Regions from separate parts of the Homo sapiens genome. Here regions 1, 3 and 4 are each linked to region 2. Evidence: promoter capture Hi-C in 16 types of primary human blood cells and fetal thymus (Javierre and others, 2016). All regions are on one chromosome and are shown on one strand. The core of a region is centred on a gene start or on the middle of the fragment in contact, and the rest is flanking DNA. Distances in the headings are between cores, read along the strand shown.

Evidence for each region. Contacts are between HindIII fragments. The CHiCAGO score rates a contact against its expected background, and 5 or more counts as called.
Region 1: a fragment that was not itself captured here is called in contact with the fragment with the promoter of ITSN2 in region 2 in 1 of 17 cell types (M1 macrophages); the score reaches 5.0 in M1 macrophages.
Region 3: a contact is called between a fragment that was not itself captured here and the fragment with the promoter of ITSN2 in region 2, in 2 of 17 cell types (M1 macrophages and M2 macrophages). The highest score is 5.4, in M1 macrophages.
Region 4: a contact is called between a fragment that was not itself captured here and the fragment with the promoter of ITSN2 in region 2, in 1 of 17 cell types (fetal thymus). The highest score is 5.3, in fetal thymus.

The regions. Positions count from the first base shown.
Region 1 is chr2:23,824,654-23,828,237 of GRCh38, reverse strand. All of the region lies in intron 15 of ATAD2B (ATPase family AAA domain containing 2B), which reads left to right. Among named protein-coding and RNA genes, the nearest start is that of ATAD2B, 100 kb to the left of the region's middle. The HindIII fragment of the contact is 1,569 bases long and covers 487-2,055 here.
Region 2 is chr2:24,358,802-24,362,618 of GRCh38, reverse strand. ITSN2 (intersectin 2) reads left to right here and starts at 2,083. Exons shown (of 40, transcript NM_006277.3): 1 at 2,083-2,315. RefSeq lists an enhancer at 1,650-1,799 and silencers at 1,900-2,199, 2,210-2,259, 2,270-2,669. The HindIII fragment of the contact is 2,111 bases long and covers 1,242-3,352 here.
Region 3 is chr2:24,886,238-24,889,975 of GRCh38, reverse strand. All of the region lies in intron 2 of ADCY3 (adenylate cyclase 3), which reads left to right. Among named protein-coding and RNA genes, the nearest start is that of ADCY3, 32 kb to the left of the region's middle. The HindIII fragment of the contact is 4,838 bases long and covers 1-3,738 here.
Region 4 is chr2:25,038,531-25,041,853 of GRCh38, reverse strand. It overlaps DNAJC27-AS1 (DNAJC27 antisense RNA 1), which reads right to left. Exons shown (of 3, transcript NR_034113.1): 3 at 2,160-3,323. Among named protein-coding and RNA genes, the nearest start is that of EFR3B, 1.9 kb to the left of the region's middle. RefSeq lists an enhancer at 1-770. The HindIII fragment of the contact is 2,097 bases long and covers 382-2,478 here.

The DNA.
Region 1 (3,584 bases), core at 22-2,521, 530 kb after region 2:
CATAGGAGATGGAATTCAGGGTTTTGGCTCTAATTAGGTCTGAAATAAAAAGGAATACAATGTTAGGCACCTGAATATACACATAGGTATTTCTCCTTCATTCTTTCCCCCTCTTTTGTCTGTTTTCCTCTCATACTCTGAAAAATATAAATAAAAAAAAAAAAACCCAATCTTCATGAACTTTTTAAGCATTATGAAGAAATCCCCCAAATAAGTCCACTAACAACAGCTTACTTGGGAAAACTTTAAAGTTACCAAAGCCAAAAAGAACAACTTAATTTAAAAAATCATTGTGATCCACCATCAAATAATTAAAACTTAAATAGAACATTAGTCCATTCAGTTAGCTACATCCAAATTATCCTCTTCATCCACAGGGACCTCCATCTCCGAAGCAGCATCCCTCAGCTTTTGAACCACAAAGACCTCGACATCTTCTGGTGAGGAGAAAACGTAAATCTCTCCAGCACTACTTCAGTTTAAGCTTTGCCTGGTATAAGAGAGCATGCGCCAAACACATTTCATGTAAATTTGGCTTGACCTTTGCAAAGCCTTGTGCTGCTTTATGGGAGAGGGTGGTATTTGGTATAAAATCCAGTCTTTTCCCTTTTTGAAAATAGACCCCTTTTATTTATGATGATATTTTACTAGAGTTCAGATCGGACTGGGAAATCTTTGTAGATTTTTCTGTGAATTTGTCACAGAATGATCCTTAACTGAAATAAGCAGAAGTCAAGTTGTCAAATCATTTTGGAAATTCCCTAAGAGATAGGTACTCTAAATTACTTTCTATTATACTGTCTACCATCTGAAATATTATATACTCTAGTTTAATTCTTCACCCCAAATATTAGAATCTTAGTTTCCTTTTGCATTTCCAAAGACAATACTTCTCATTTTTCCCAGTGATTTTTTTAGCTTTTAGGCAGTTTCTTAAGTTTTAAAATTTTCATGGTATAATTTCTTACAGGACTGATAAATTTCTCTTACCTTTTTTCCCTCCCCTCTGTGGGGTGGTAGTATGTGTGCAGACTCTGCTTATATACCATTTTCTTCCTGGACAGTGACATAAAAATCCATTATAATTAAATGACTTCTGTTTTTTGTTATGACATTCATTCCATCTGAGAAACCGGTTCACATTAAAAAAAAAATCAAATTCAGATCTTCAAACGGGCGTGAAATAGTAATTTTAAATCCATTACAAACTCACTAGTCTGTGTATGCCAAACATGTTTTAACATGAATAGGTTCAGTTCATTGAAATTTATGCCTCATAGAGTATGATGAACAGCTGTGAAGATAGCTGACCTTTTGTTAGAGGTTATGGATTTGGTAACTTTTACCTTGAAATTCCCAAGTTCTTAGAGGTTTTTGCATGCATATTGGGTGTGATTTTTGCATAGTGAAAAACTCAACATACATTGATATCAGGAACATTTGCATAAATAGTAGGAAACTTATGATTAATGAAACACTCAACTCTAATCATATTTTTCTATTCCATTTTCAATGAGAGGGCTAAAACAATGAAAGAGTCTCAATGAAGTGACTTATCTTGTGGGCCTTCATTATGTGTGATGCTGTACTTAAAACTTTATAAAATTTTGTTATGACCTTGTTTCTAGTCTAACCTCTTTAGTAGCTGTATTTTCAGTCTTTTTAGAACAATTTCTAGCTTAATAGCAGTATTCAGGAATGCTCTTTATTTGATAACTAAATGTGTTCACAGAGTATTAGAATTGTAATGGTAGATTTAGTATGGTTATGAAAGGGATGTTTATAATTTCTTTAATATTAACTTTTAACGCCTAAAAGGCTGTAGTATATTTTCAGTATTACTAGAATGATCATATTATTTATTTTCTAAACAAGGACGCTTTGAGAGTGAAAAGATGTGCTATTATGACAGGACAAGAGGCCTAACCAGCACATGTGGTTACCCTAAGTATAACCCATTTAGCCATGGTTATGATGCAATTTTAAAGTTTTAGAAGGAAGTATGTTAAATCAGTAGTTCTCAATTTTGTGTGTATCAGAGTCACTTCTAAAGCTTTCTTGAAATGCACATATGATTTCAAGCCCCCAGAGATTCTGATTCACTGGGTTTATTGTGGGGCTTGGGAATCTGTTTTTTTTTGTTTCAGTTTCAGTGTTTATTCAGATGGATAATCAAGGTGAGAACCACAGATATAAACTGGTAATTCTTACTTATAAGCGAATGTAAAAAAATTTCCTTCTTTATAAGTCTGTTGGTTATAATAATTAATGTGAAAATCTACTTCATTAAATGGGGTCTATTGATCATTTCTTTGTCTGGAATAAATCAATAAATAATACATTGCTGTTATATATGTAATTAACATGTTGTGGCAAACATAAATGTTATGGGTAACATTTACTACCTAAAATGCCTTCTAGTGGCTAATTATTTGTTTTGCCTAATAGTTTCTGAGTTTTAATTTTTTTAAACTTAGGCTTTTGCACTTAAAATAGGACCATATAATATGTTCATTAACTGTGTATATCCTTTTAAAGAAGAAATAGAAACGTGATTGTTTATGTTGTTTGAAGATGGTAGTATATTCCTATTTCCTCGGAAATGGAAGACATAATTCACATTCTATAATCATATACTTAGATTACTTTGTTAACTCTTTATAACTTTGAGCTAGTGTTCTATACATTATTGAATTAATGAAATGGGTATATATGCAAAAGGAAAAGATAATTTTTTTCCAGGTTTCTTTGAGAAATAGAAAATAAAACGAGACACTAGTGGTAAATTTGGTTATCTGAAGAATTATTTGTGAGATAGATCACTGTCATGGAACAATGTTAATGCGTAATCTGCTTATAGTCTTCTGAATTAAGTTCTTCTAGGTCATATTAAGTTTTTCCCTAACTTTGAATAGGTTTTTCTTAGTAATCACCATTTTTAGTTCAGTATTTAAGTGTTCTATAAGGTCATTGTGAGGTATAAAAAGATAAATAGGCCAGGTGTGATGACTCATGCCTGTAATACCAGCACTTTGGGAGGGTGAGGCAGGAGGATTGAGGCTAGGAGTTTGAGACCAGCCTGGACAAAGTGAGACCCCTATCTCTACAAAAAAAAAAAAAAAAAAAAATTAGCCTGATGTGATGGCACACACTGTAGTCTCAGCTACTCAGCAGGCTGAGGCAGAAGGATTTCTTGAGCCCAGGAAGTCAAGGCTGCGGTGAGCCATGATCACCCACTGCACTTCAGCCTGGGCAACAGAGCGATAATGCTGTCTCCCAAAAATAAAATAAAAATAAACCTGGTATTGTTTGTTGAAGCTTAGTTAGGGTCTAATATTCTATAACTATTGGAATGGTTCCCCCTACTGGCATAACTGATAATTGTGGCCAAATGCAAGTTTAATTGCCAACAGGGAAAACAATATGGCTAGTTTGAGCTTTTCTTCCTTTTTGTGACAAGGATGCAACAGAGCATGTGTTTTTGTATGTATTTGTTACTCAGATGAATGAAATGACTTAAAAACAGTGGGGCTTGATCTGTTGTTTGATTGTATCATACATTAAACATGGGTAATAAATAATAC
Region 2 (3,817 bases), core at 834-3,333:
ACTCTCAAATATGGGCTCCAAAAGAGCATATCAGTTAACTGGTGAAGGGTGCAATGGGAATGAGGCCACGTGCTCAAGATTGCTATCCTTGGCCTGGGTGGTTTGTTTGCAGATAAGGACAGATTGGCTGGTCCCCAGCAAGTGAGGGGCCTCCTAGACTGATAAAAGAGTCAGGCTTCTCTGTGTCACTGAAGCTCAGGACCTGTCTGTCAGGTCTTGGTCAGGTTCTAATCGAAGAGTTAGGAAAAACACTGAGTGTGAGAGCGGGAAAAGCCTGTTTATCATCATCGATGTTTGGTAAATTCCTCCTAAGCTGGCTGGCCAGTTCAGATAGGCCTGGGTTTGGAGCCATCTCACCTTCACCTGCCTCAACAGGTAAGGAATGAAAGGATGCCAGGGGTTATTTGATCTACACAGATCAAATCAAGGGATATGAGTTTTGGACCCCAGACCAGCCCTCACCCTGCTTCTAAAAGCCAAAATAAATCTTGGGTCTTGGCCGGGCGTGGTGGCTCACGCCAATCCCAGCACTTTGGGAGGATGAGGCGGGTGGATCACCTGAGGTCAGGAGTTTGAGACCAGCCTGGCCAACATGGTGAAACCAGTGTCTACTAAAAATACAAAAATTAGCCGGGCGTGGTGGCAAGTGCCTGTAATCCCAGGTACTTGGAAGGCTGAGGCAGGAGAATTGCTTGAACCTGGGAGGCGGAGGTTGCAGTGAGCACAGATCTCACAGTTGCGCCACTGCACTCCAGCCTGGGCAACGGAGTGAGAGTCTGTCTCAGGAAAAAAAAAAAAAAAAAAAAAAAAAAAAAAAGAAATCTTGGGTCTTATATCCAAAAATCTTGAGTCTTACATTTGGTTACTTTTTTTTTTTTGAGACAGAGTTTCGCTCTTGTCGCCCAGGCTGGAGTACAGTGGTGCAATCTCTGCTCACTGCAACCTCCGCCTCCCAGGTTCAAGCGATTCTCCTGCCTCAGCCTTCCGAGTAGCTGGGACTACAGGCGCCCGCCACCACGCCCAGCTAATTTTTGTATTGTTAGAAGAGGCGGGGTTTCACCATGTTGGCCAGGCTGGTCTCCAACTCCTGACCTCAGATGATCCACCTGCCTCGGCCTCCCAAAGTGCCGGGGTTACAAGCGTGAGCCACTGTGCCAGGCCGACATTTGGTTACGTTCATTAGGAAACACTAACTCCTCCCTCACCCCAATCAAAAGAAAGCCTTTCCCCTTGAAGAAGCTTCTTGTCAAGGGCAAACCTTTGGGGTTTTGGGATACGGTGGCGGCTTGAGTTGAAGTCTGGTCTTTTGTGAGGAGACCAGGAACCGGGAGGGGAGAAAAGAGACAAATTCTGAGTAGGAGCTTCGCCTGTCCCTTGGCGAGGGGTGGGGAGGAAAGTTTAGCTTCGTCGTGCTATGCTCTATGGGGACAGAGTCTTCCTACTGCTCGGCGGAGTGTGACTAGCGTAGAGGGTGCTCCTCGTGGGCGCTCCGCGTGTGTTATGGAGGAGGGCGAGGAATGGTGAATGGATGACCGAGGGTATGGTTAAGTCCTCCAGGTCCCTGAGAAGGGTTCAAGAGGCCTGTAACAGACCCATGGGCAAGGGTGGGATCAACCTCCTTCCCACCTTCCACCCCCCAATTCCCAGAGAATTCGTTCCCCCAGATCAGTGGAGAAAACTTCGGCGAGTGAGAAGGTTCCAGGGAGAACCCCGTGGTGGGTGCAACAGGGATGTGGCAGGCACTGCTTGGGACTTTCCAAAACCCCGGCGTCTGCCGTGGCAGGAAAAGCACCACCCAAGCTCAGCATGTTACCTCGGGGAGGAGGAGCCAGGTGGGTCTGTGCAACTCCAGGAAGGGCTGCCAGGTCTGGGGCTTCGGGGCCTCCCCGAGGGCAGAGAGGAGCGCTTCGGACCCGACCGACTCGGAGCAGACCTTCAGGGTTCAATGCCCCGGAACTCCTGGGGCGAGGAGCCACGCCCGGGCAGTTTCGGGCTCCGGAGGGTGGGGAGTCGGTGCCCGGCAGCGGGCGGGCCGTCAGCTGCCCGGCCCGGCGCCTACCTCCCCGCCCCCCGGCTTCCTGCGGAGGCCGCGGCCGCCATGTTGTTGTGGGGCTGAGGCGGCGCCGGCGGAGCCCTGAGCGGCTGTGACAGGCTACGCAACAGGTTCGCGGGCGGCGGCCTGACGACCAAGCCAGCTGCAGTGGCGGCGACGGCGGCAGAGCAGGGTCTCCCCGCGCCTGCCCGCGCCCAGGCTGCCGGTGCTGAGGGACGCGGAGTCGCGCTGTGACGAGCGGGAGGCGCGGCGAGGGCGCCAGGTGGGTGAAGCCGCTAGCGGGGCTGCAGCAAGGCGCGGGGCAGGTGCGGGCGCCGCGCCCGCTGCCCGGAGGCTCTGCGGGTCGGGCTGAGGCGGCTGTGCGCTCCGCACGATGGGGACGGGTCCTCGGGAGTACGGGCGGCCCCCGAGCTAGGCCCCTGGCGGGCTCGGCCGTGCGGGGCGGAAACCTCCGGCCCCGGGTTCCTTCCTCTGCTGCCGGGCCGGGACAGACGCCGAGGGGGCCTGGGCTGGGCTGCCCCTTCCTTGCGGCCGAGCCCGGGTCCCTGGCCGCGGCCTCGTCTGGCAGGTGGCGGACGCCGGCGAGGGTCGGGGGTGGCGTGGCCCCCTCGCTTTCGGGGTGTGAGCAGAAGAGAGCTCTGGGGGCACCCGCACGCCTCCTCGGGGACCCATTTTATTTTCGCGGAGTTGGTTTTCCTTCCTGGCAAGGGTTGGTGCCGAATGTCAGGTGAGCCGCATCCCGGTGCGTCAAAGTAGCCCGAGTCACGAGAGGACAGTGGGCGGATGCTTGGCGTCTACCGCTCGCGTTCCTCCGGAGTTGGAAATGTTAAATTTACCTTCAGCGTTATTGACTTCCAGAATATACAGGAAGCACCGAGAGATGTAATCTCTCAGGCCAGATAAAGTTTATTTGTGTATTTATTTATTTATTTTTAAAGACGTCTGCATATGCATAGTGAGTGGGTAAACCGAGGCTGAAACTGCAGATGGCTTTGTATTCTATAGAAAGATGCTCCGTTTGGATTTATTAATTATGCGCCTTGTCGCTCTAGAATTACCAATGGCAAGTGTGCTTTATTTGAAACTTGTGTTAATACTGAAATAGGAATATTTTTTGATGGAGCCAACCCCTTTACGATAGGAATTAAGGTTAGCATAGAAATGACTTGCTTTGCTCCATGCTTCTAGTTTGTCTCACTAGTGTTTGCTTGCTTACTCAGAAATAGGCAAGGTGTGACTTGAAATTTTACGTTGTTAGTGAGCTCAGTTTAGGTAGCATAGCTCTTGTAGTTTAAAGCTTCTTAAGCGTTTCGAAAAATTGCCTCTCTCCCTGTGCTGGTTTGCTATATTGTTAATCAGTGATAAAACCTAAAAGCTACCTAGAAACATCGCATAAAACATTTACGCGAATTAATAATGACGTCCTTCCAAATTTAAAGATACTGACAACTCTGATGTGTTTTCCTTTAGCTTTTTTTGGCTGTGCCTGTGACTCTCTTGTAATTTCAAAAGTAAATAAAGTGGATGTATTTTATGTTTTTGAAAACGTGGAAAAAATGTGCATTGCTGCTATTTTGATGTAATATTAATAAGCAGTTGAAAAGCTTGCATTTTTTCACCCTTCCATGCATTGATAACTATTCCCTGTGCCCACCTTTGTAATGAAAGGTAAACTCGTCCAAGAAAACTTGACCTGTACAGAATTACTAAGCAGGGAGTTACCATTGTTCGGTACATCTCAAGGCTAAAATCTTGATCTCTCCT
Region 3 (3,738 bases), core at 311-2,810, 530 kb before region 2:
AAGGCATCTTTGCAAAACCTACATCATATTTAATAGAGAAAGTCTGAATGTTCTCTTTTTAACCAAGGTTGGCTTTATGAGCACATGACTTGTGCAGTCTGGAAATTCTTAACAATTTTATTTATTCATTTATTTATTTGAGACGGAGTTTCGCTCTTGCTGCCCAGGCTGGAGTGCAATGGCGCGACCTTGGCTCACTGCAACCTCCGCCTCCCGGGTTCAAGCGATTCTCCTGCCTCAGCCTCCCAAGTAGCTGGGATTACAGGCATGTGCCATCACGCCTGGCCAATTTTGTATTTTTATTAGAGATGGGATTTCACCACGTTGGCCAGGCTGGTCTCAAACTCCTGACCTCAAGTGGCCCACTCGCCTCAGCCTCCCAAAGTGCTGGGCAGGATTACAGGCGTGAGCCACTGTGCCCAGCCAACAGTTTTATTTTTGAACTTATGTTTTGCAGCTGAAGCCTGCTGAGACAATGGAACATGCATATGTACTGAAGAAATACATACAAGATGAGTACCTGCCATATGTTTTTGTGTCATTTGCATATTTGTGTGTGATGCCCCGGCAACATGGAGTTCTGGTGAATTCACAATGTCTGGGAGTTGAGCAAGATGCAAAACAAGCGCAAAATAACATGTCGCATCCACAGCTGAGTAAGTAGAGGTACTGACAGCTCTGAGATTTTGTGCTTTCTGTTCAAACTAGAACTTGCTTCAAATACAGAAAGAAGGCAGTGACATTCTCAGAAACATGAACATCCCATGCTGCTTCCCTGTATTGGCCAACCATTTAATGCTGAAATTAATGACACAGAAATAAAAGGGAAGGTAGGACACACCCTAATAGCTTTCATTCCTTCCTCACGCATTATAAGCTGAAGATAGTGTTAGCAGAAGGTGCGTGTATCAATAAATGAAATAAAAACAGTTGAGTTTTCTGCAGCCTTTCCACTGTTTTTGTTTTTGAGACAGAGTCTCGCTCTGTCGCCCATGCTAGAGTGCAGTGGTGTGACCTCAGCTCACTGCAACCTCTGCCTCCCGGGTTCAAGCAATTCTCCTGCCTCAGCCTCCCGAGTAGCTGGGACTACAGGCACATGCCACTATGCCCGGCTAATTTTTGTATTTTCAGTAGAGACGGGGTCTCACCATATTGGTCAGGCTGATCTCAAACTCTTCACCTCAGGTGATCTACCCACCTTGACCTCCCAAAGTACTGGGATTACAGGCCTGAGCCACCACACCAGGCCCTTTCCACCATTTTGGTAAAATAAAATACATATATACATATGAGCCAAGAAATACTAATTGCCATGTGAGGCAATTTTCCATGTGAGAAGGTTGCAGAGGGAGGTTTTAAGGGACTTTCTAAGGAGTGATAGAACACAAGCCAGTTTGGCTCCAAAGACAGTGCTTATTCCACGGCATCACACTCCCTCCTGTTGTAGGGGCTGGAGGAGGACTTGTTGACTAATGGTGTGAAGGTTAATTGGTGTCCCCAGACACAGGCAGCCACTGTGGGCTGGGAGGTAGTCGGTCAGTTCAGCACCGGCAGGTGGCTCTAGCAGCTGCTGGCACTGCCATGAGGGTCTTCCCGATAATGAGACGTGGAAAGGGATGGGACAGGAGCTGAGCCGTCCAGCTGGGTGGCAGGGTCCTGGGGCCAGGATGTGCAGCTACACTGCAGGGCCCAAAACCCAGCCAGTGCACAGTGACACAGGCAGCATTCCACCTCAGAGGCTGGACAGGCAATGGGGGAGGACCAGGGGATGGGAACTTACTTGAGAGCTGTTGTGGTTTGAATGTTTTTGATGTTCCGAATGTGTTTGAATGTTTGTGATGAAATTTGAGTTTTGTTGAATCTGTGGATACAGAGGACCTACTGTGTACAAGGCAGTGTTTGAGGATGGAGCCTTAGAATGTCAGCACAGCCAAATTTGGGGACCATTGACACACATTGCCTTCCCAGGTGATGAAAATGACCTTGACTCACTCAAGCAGACTCAGAAAGCTGGAGAATTGGGAATAAATTCAGGAGTAACCTTGGGAATTTATAATATGCCTAACAATAATAGGTAACACTTAGATGTATTGTGTATCTGGCACAGTCTGATGCTGGGCTCTTTACACACATCATAGAGGAGTCTCCAACCCACCCTGAGATGGGCCTGTGGTTATTTGCATTTCGCAGGGGAGGCAGCGAGTTTAAAGTGTGGCAACTTCCAAGGCCCAGGCCCATGATGGAGATGAAATTCCACTCCAGCCTGAGTTTGGAGCTGCATTCTTCACCGCCATGCTTTCCTGCCCCGAGTGTTGGCCTCACCGAGAGGAGGTGTGTGTGTCGGGGGGGAGTGGGCTGGGACACGTGGTCATGGGGGCCCACAGAGCCAGATGCCGGGGGAACCAGGCACCCTCAGGAGCCATCACGGCTATCGCTGCATGATGCCGGTGAACCCCTCGGGACTTGGCCTGGTTTTCGACCTCTTGGCAGCCCCGAGTGTTCCCAGGCTGTGAAAATCCCCCCAGGTGCAGTGGCTGGCCTGGTCTCCGAGGGAAAGGAGCCGTGGAGCTCGCAGGTGGAAGGCTAGAGAGAGTAAGTGATACGGTTAGGCTTTGCGTCCCCACCCAAATCTCATCTTGAATTGTAATCTCCATCATCCCTACGTGTCAAGGGAGAGACCAGGTGGAGGTAGTTGAATCATGGGGTGGTTTCCCCCATGCTGTTCTCGTGATAGTGAGTGAGTTCTCACAAGATCCGATGGTATTATAAAGGGCTCTTCCCCTTTCGCTCGGCACGTCTTCCTGCTGCTTTGTGAAGGAGGTGTTTTGTGACCCTTTCGCCATGATTGTAAATTTCCTGAGGCCTTCCCAGCCATGCTGAACTGTGAGTCAGTTAAACCTCTTTCCTTTATAAATTGCCCGGTCACAGGCAGTTATTTATAGCAGTACAAAAACGGACTAATACAGGAAGAAAGCTGGGGCTGCTAGGGAGAAGTTAAGACCAAGAGTGAGCCACGGGGTGTCACTTGTGGGGGACTGTCGAGTTGGTGATTTGCACCCCTTTGTGCCAGCCAGGCCCAGCATCTGCCTAGCAGAGCCCCAGGGACCGGCTTGCCTTGTGCAGCAGCTAACCTCACCCACTCAGGGCACATGGCAGCCTCCTTGCCAGCTGGGCTTCCCCCTTCCCCTCCCCAGGGCAGGCTCATCCGAGTGAGTGAGAGCAGTGAGTCCGTGGGCATCGCCCGGAACCAGCTCCAGTTTCTAAGGAGAGTAGAGCTTTTGCGCTGCTGGGAGCTGGATGATGAGTGGCGAGAACTGGCCTGGCAGCGCAGCTCACACCCATCTCGGGGCGGGGGTCTTCTCCCTTCATTCCTGGTTGTCATGACCCTGAGCTTCAGAGTTTCTGTGTCAAGGCGAAGCAGGAGGGCAGAGTGAGGTGACTGGGTTCTGTGCCCAGGTCTTGTGGGAAGATCTTAGGGAGGTTTATCTTCCCACCTGGCCCTTTGCAAGGTCCGGGTGGAGGTGAGGCGTGTTTGCTAAACATGATGTAGCGCAAGGAGGCTCAGGTGGGCTCGATGGAGGAGGCGGGGTTCAGCTAGATTTCGAGGGGGAGGCGGAAGGCGGCCAGGTGGGGAGGGGCATTCTAAGTGCGTGCTTCCCACATTGGGGGTGCAGGGTTGTGTTTGCTTTGGCGCATGTGAAGCCACAGGATGACCGTGGAGTTGGCATTTCCTTTCAT
Region 4 (3,323 bases), core at 181-2,680, 680 kb before region 2:
AGCTCTCCCTAACCTGGGGTCCTCGAGGTCAGCCGGGGCGCTGAGAGCTGCAGGTGCACCCCTCCTCCAGTTCTGTCCAGGCTGCGTGGGCTAAGCCGGGGGGCGCAAGGATGGGAATTGGGGAATGACTTCCACCCTCTCCTGGCTAGGTACCTTAGCTGAGCGCCGTTCTCTGATGAAGCCCTCCAGCCCTCAGCTGCGCCCTACCAGCTACTCTCTGGCTAGGTGCCCAGCCACTCTCTGGCTAGGTGCTTGCTACCACCAAACAGCGTCCTTCCCGGGTCAGGGACGCAGGAAACGCACCCCACTCCCAACCCCCAAGGGCTGCAGGAAGTCCGCTTGCTTTTCCTCTCCCTGATTTATATGTGTAATTCGCAAGCTTTGCCGCCAGGATCCTCTCCAGCTGAGCCCCAGCGCCGACTTGAATTCCAGCTCTGCACCTGCCGTGACCCTATGAGGAACAGGCACAGAGAGGCAGCGGCTCATGCCTACGCCCACACCTGAAGATCTCTCCTAAGCTAGCTCAGGACTTCCCTGGGCTTCTCATCCAGCCTTCTTTACATTGCACACGTTCCCGTCTTTTTTTTTTTTTTTTTTTTTTTTTTTTTTTTTTTTGACATGGAGTCTCACTCTCGCCCAGGGTGGAGTACAGTGGCACTATCTCGGCTCCCTGCAAACTCCGCCTCCTGGGTTCAAGCGATTCTTCCACCTCAGCCTCCAGAGTAGCTGGGACTACAGGTGCGTGCCACCACGCCCGGCTAATTTTTGTATTTTTTGGTAGAGAAGGGATTTCACCATGTTGGCCAGGCTGGTCTGGAACTCCTGACCTCAAGTGATCCGCCCGCCTCGGCCTCCCAAAGTGCTGAGATTACAGGCCTGAGCCACTTCTCCTGCCCCTCCTGGCCTTTCAATATCGATTTCTTAGTTTCTCTTGGCCCATGGTTGAGAGTTGTTTGGGTTTTCTTTTGTTTTTTTCTACTGGTAGAAATATTCTACTAGTAGAAGTTAGAGAGGAAAGGAACTTAAAGATACTTAAGAACTGAACTTCATTTTACTTCATTTAACGTTGAGAGGTTAATTTATGTTGTTAGGCTGGGCTGTGTGTCTGTAGGCCAATGATCTACTCTCTCAACCCCAGCTTCCTGCAGGACTGTTGGGAAACTGGAATAAAATCTACATGAAATGACACAGTGGGCACTCATGTATATTTTTTCCTTCCTTCATGGCTCAAGGCAGGAACAGAGCCAGAGAAAGAATCCAGGTTGCCAGACTCTTGAAACAGTGCTCAGTCTGTTGCACTCAAAACTTATGTTTCCTATTTTTCTCTGGCCTGGGCCTCCACCTCCCGCCCGCGCCCCACTCTCTTGCTGTTTCCAGGTTTTCTTCTTCTTCCTTGACCTCTTTGACTCTCTTAGCAGCATGCCAGCCCCAAGGGAAACCCTGGGATGGTTCCTGGAACACACATTTAGTCTAGACCCCCCTACCCCGGGCACACACTCCCTGCATCTCACAAATAACCTCTGTCTCTGTTCTTCAGTTCCAGGACCAGGCCAGGTGGCTTTAAGATTGACTGAGAGTCAGACTTGAACTGGAGCAGGAAGGAGAATCTCAGCTCTAGCTTGATATGATCACCCAGAGACACTCCCTTCCCACAATTCTGCTCAACACAAAATATACTCATGAAACATTGGTGTCTACAGTACAGAAGGAAATGCAGTGTCTGTCTTCAAAGAATGAAAGGTCTAGCAGGGAATTCCAGATGAATACTGATAAAAACATTACTTGAGGCCAGACGTGGTGGCTCACACCTGTAATCCCAGCACTTTGGGAGGCCAAGGCAGGTGGATCACCTGTGATCAGGAGTTCAAGACCAGCCTGGCCAACATGGTGAAACCACATCTCTACTAAAAATACAAAAATTAGCCGGGCATGGTGGTGCATGCCTGTAGTCCCAGCTACTCGGGAGGCTGAGGCAGGAGAATCGCTTGAGCCTGGGAGGCGGAGATTTCAGTGAGCTGAGATTGTGCCTCTGCACTCCAGCCTGGGCGACAGAGTGAGACACTGTCTCAAAAAAAAAAAAAAAAAAAAAAAAAAAATTACTGGGCAGGAAAAAAACATAGTCAATTCTGCATGAGAAGTACAGACCTCTATTTAGAAAATTCACAAGGCTGATAGTTTAATTTGTTCTTTCTATCAGCTATTTACCAATCACTCCCTATGACATGCTAGACACTGTGGAAGGTACTTAGGAGCGGGGAGACATGTAAAAATTATCATAAAATCTTATAATGACTATGGAGGCACATACAAGGAGCAGGGAAGAGTTTCATGAAGGGAAAAAGAAAAAACAATTCAGGTGTGGGAGGAGGGGCACAGGGCTTCCAAGCCCTCCCCCAGGCACCACCCTCCAGGAACCTCGATGTGTTCAGTTATCCCAAAGCTCCCTGAACCCTGTCCGCTTGGGTTTTTATGAAAGCTTTATAACGTCAGCATTCCTTCCCCCGGGGTATAGGGTGGGAACCTCTCTGGGAATGGTCTTAAGAACAACCATTGGAAAGTCCAGGAAAGATTAGAGTCCTGCCTGGGGGCAGGTGAAAGGAGGGCAGGAGAAGGAGAGAGTCTGTTTCCTGTGGCCTAACACACTCAATATTACAACAAAAGACTGTAACAAGGGCTATGGGAGTTATGAGCCAGGAATCATGGAGGAAAACTGTCTATCATAACAACACAGCATTCAAGGTCCTTCCAACAGGGCCCCAGACTTCCTTTCCCACCTGGCTTCCACCTCCTGTTCCCTCCTCAACTGTGCTCCCACTAGATGGGCTTGCACACCACACTTACCATACTCTTTCCTCTACCATCTCTGACCTTTGTAAATTTCAGTCCCTCTGAACAACTTCAGCAAATTAATTGAACCCGAAGAGGGAGTCACGGGAACCCCAACTTGAAGCCAGTTGGTCAGAAGTTCTGGAGGTCTGGACTTACAACTGGTGTTGGGGGAACAGTCTTGGGGACTGAGCCCTCCAATGTGGGATCTGACACTACTTTTCAGTGTCAGACTGCATTAGAGGACACCCAGCTGCTTGGTGTGTGGGGAAACGCCCCCCCCCCACCCCGACATTTGGTCATAACTCTTCTGCGTTGATTGTTGTGATGTGAGAGTAAAGGAAAAACGCTGTTACAGAGTATTTTCCCCGTAAAACCGCCCAACCCAAAAGCCTTCCTGTCAGCTCTAGGGTTAGCAGACGAGCTTAGCCAACATGGCAAAACCCTATCTCTACTAAAAATACAAAAATTAGCCGGGCATGGTGGCAGGCGCCTGT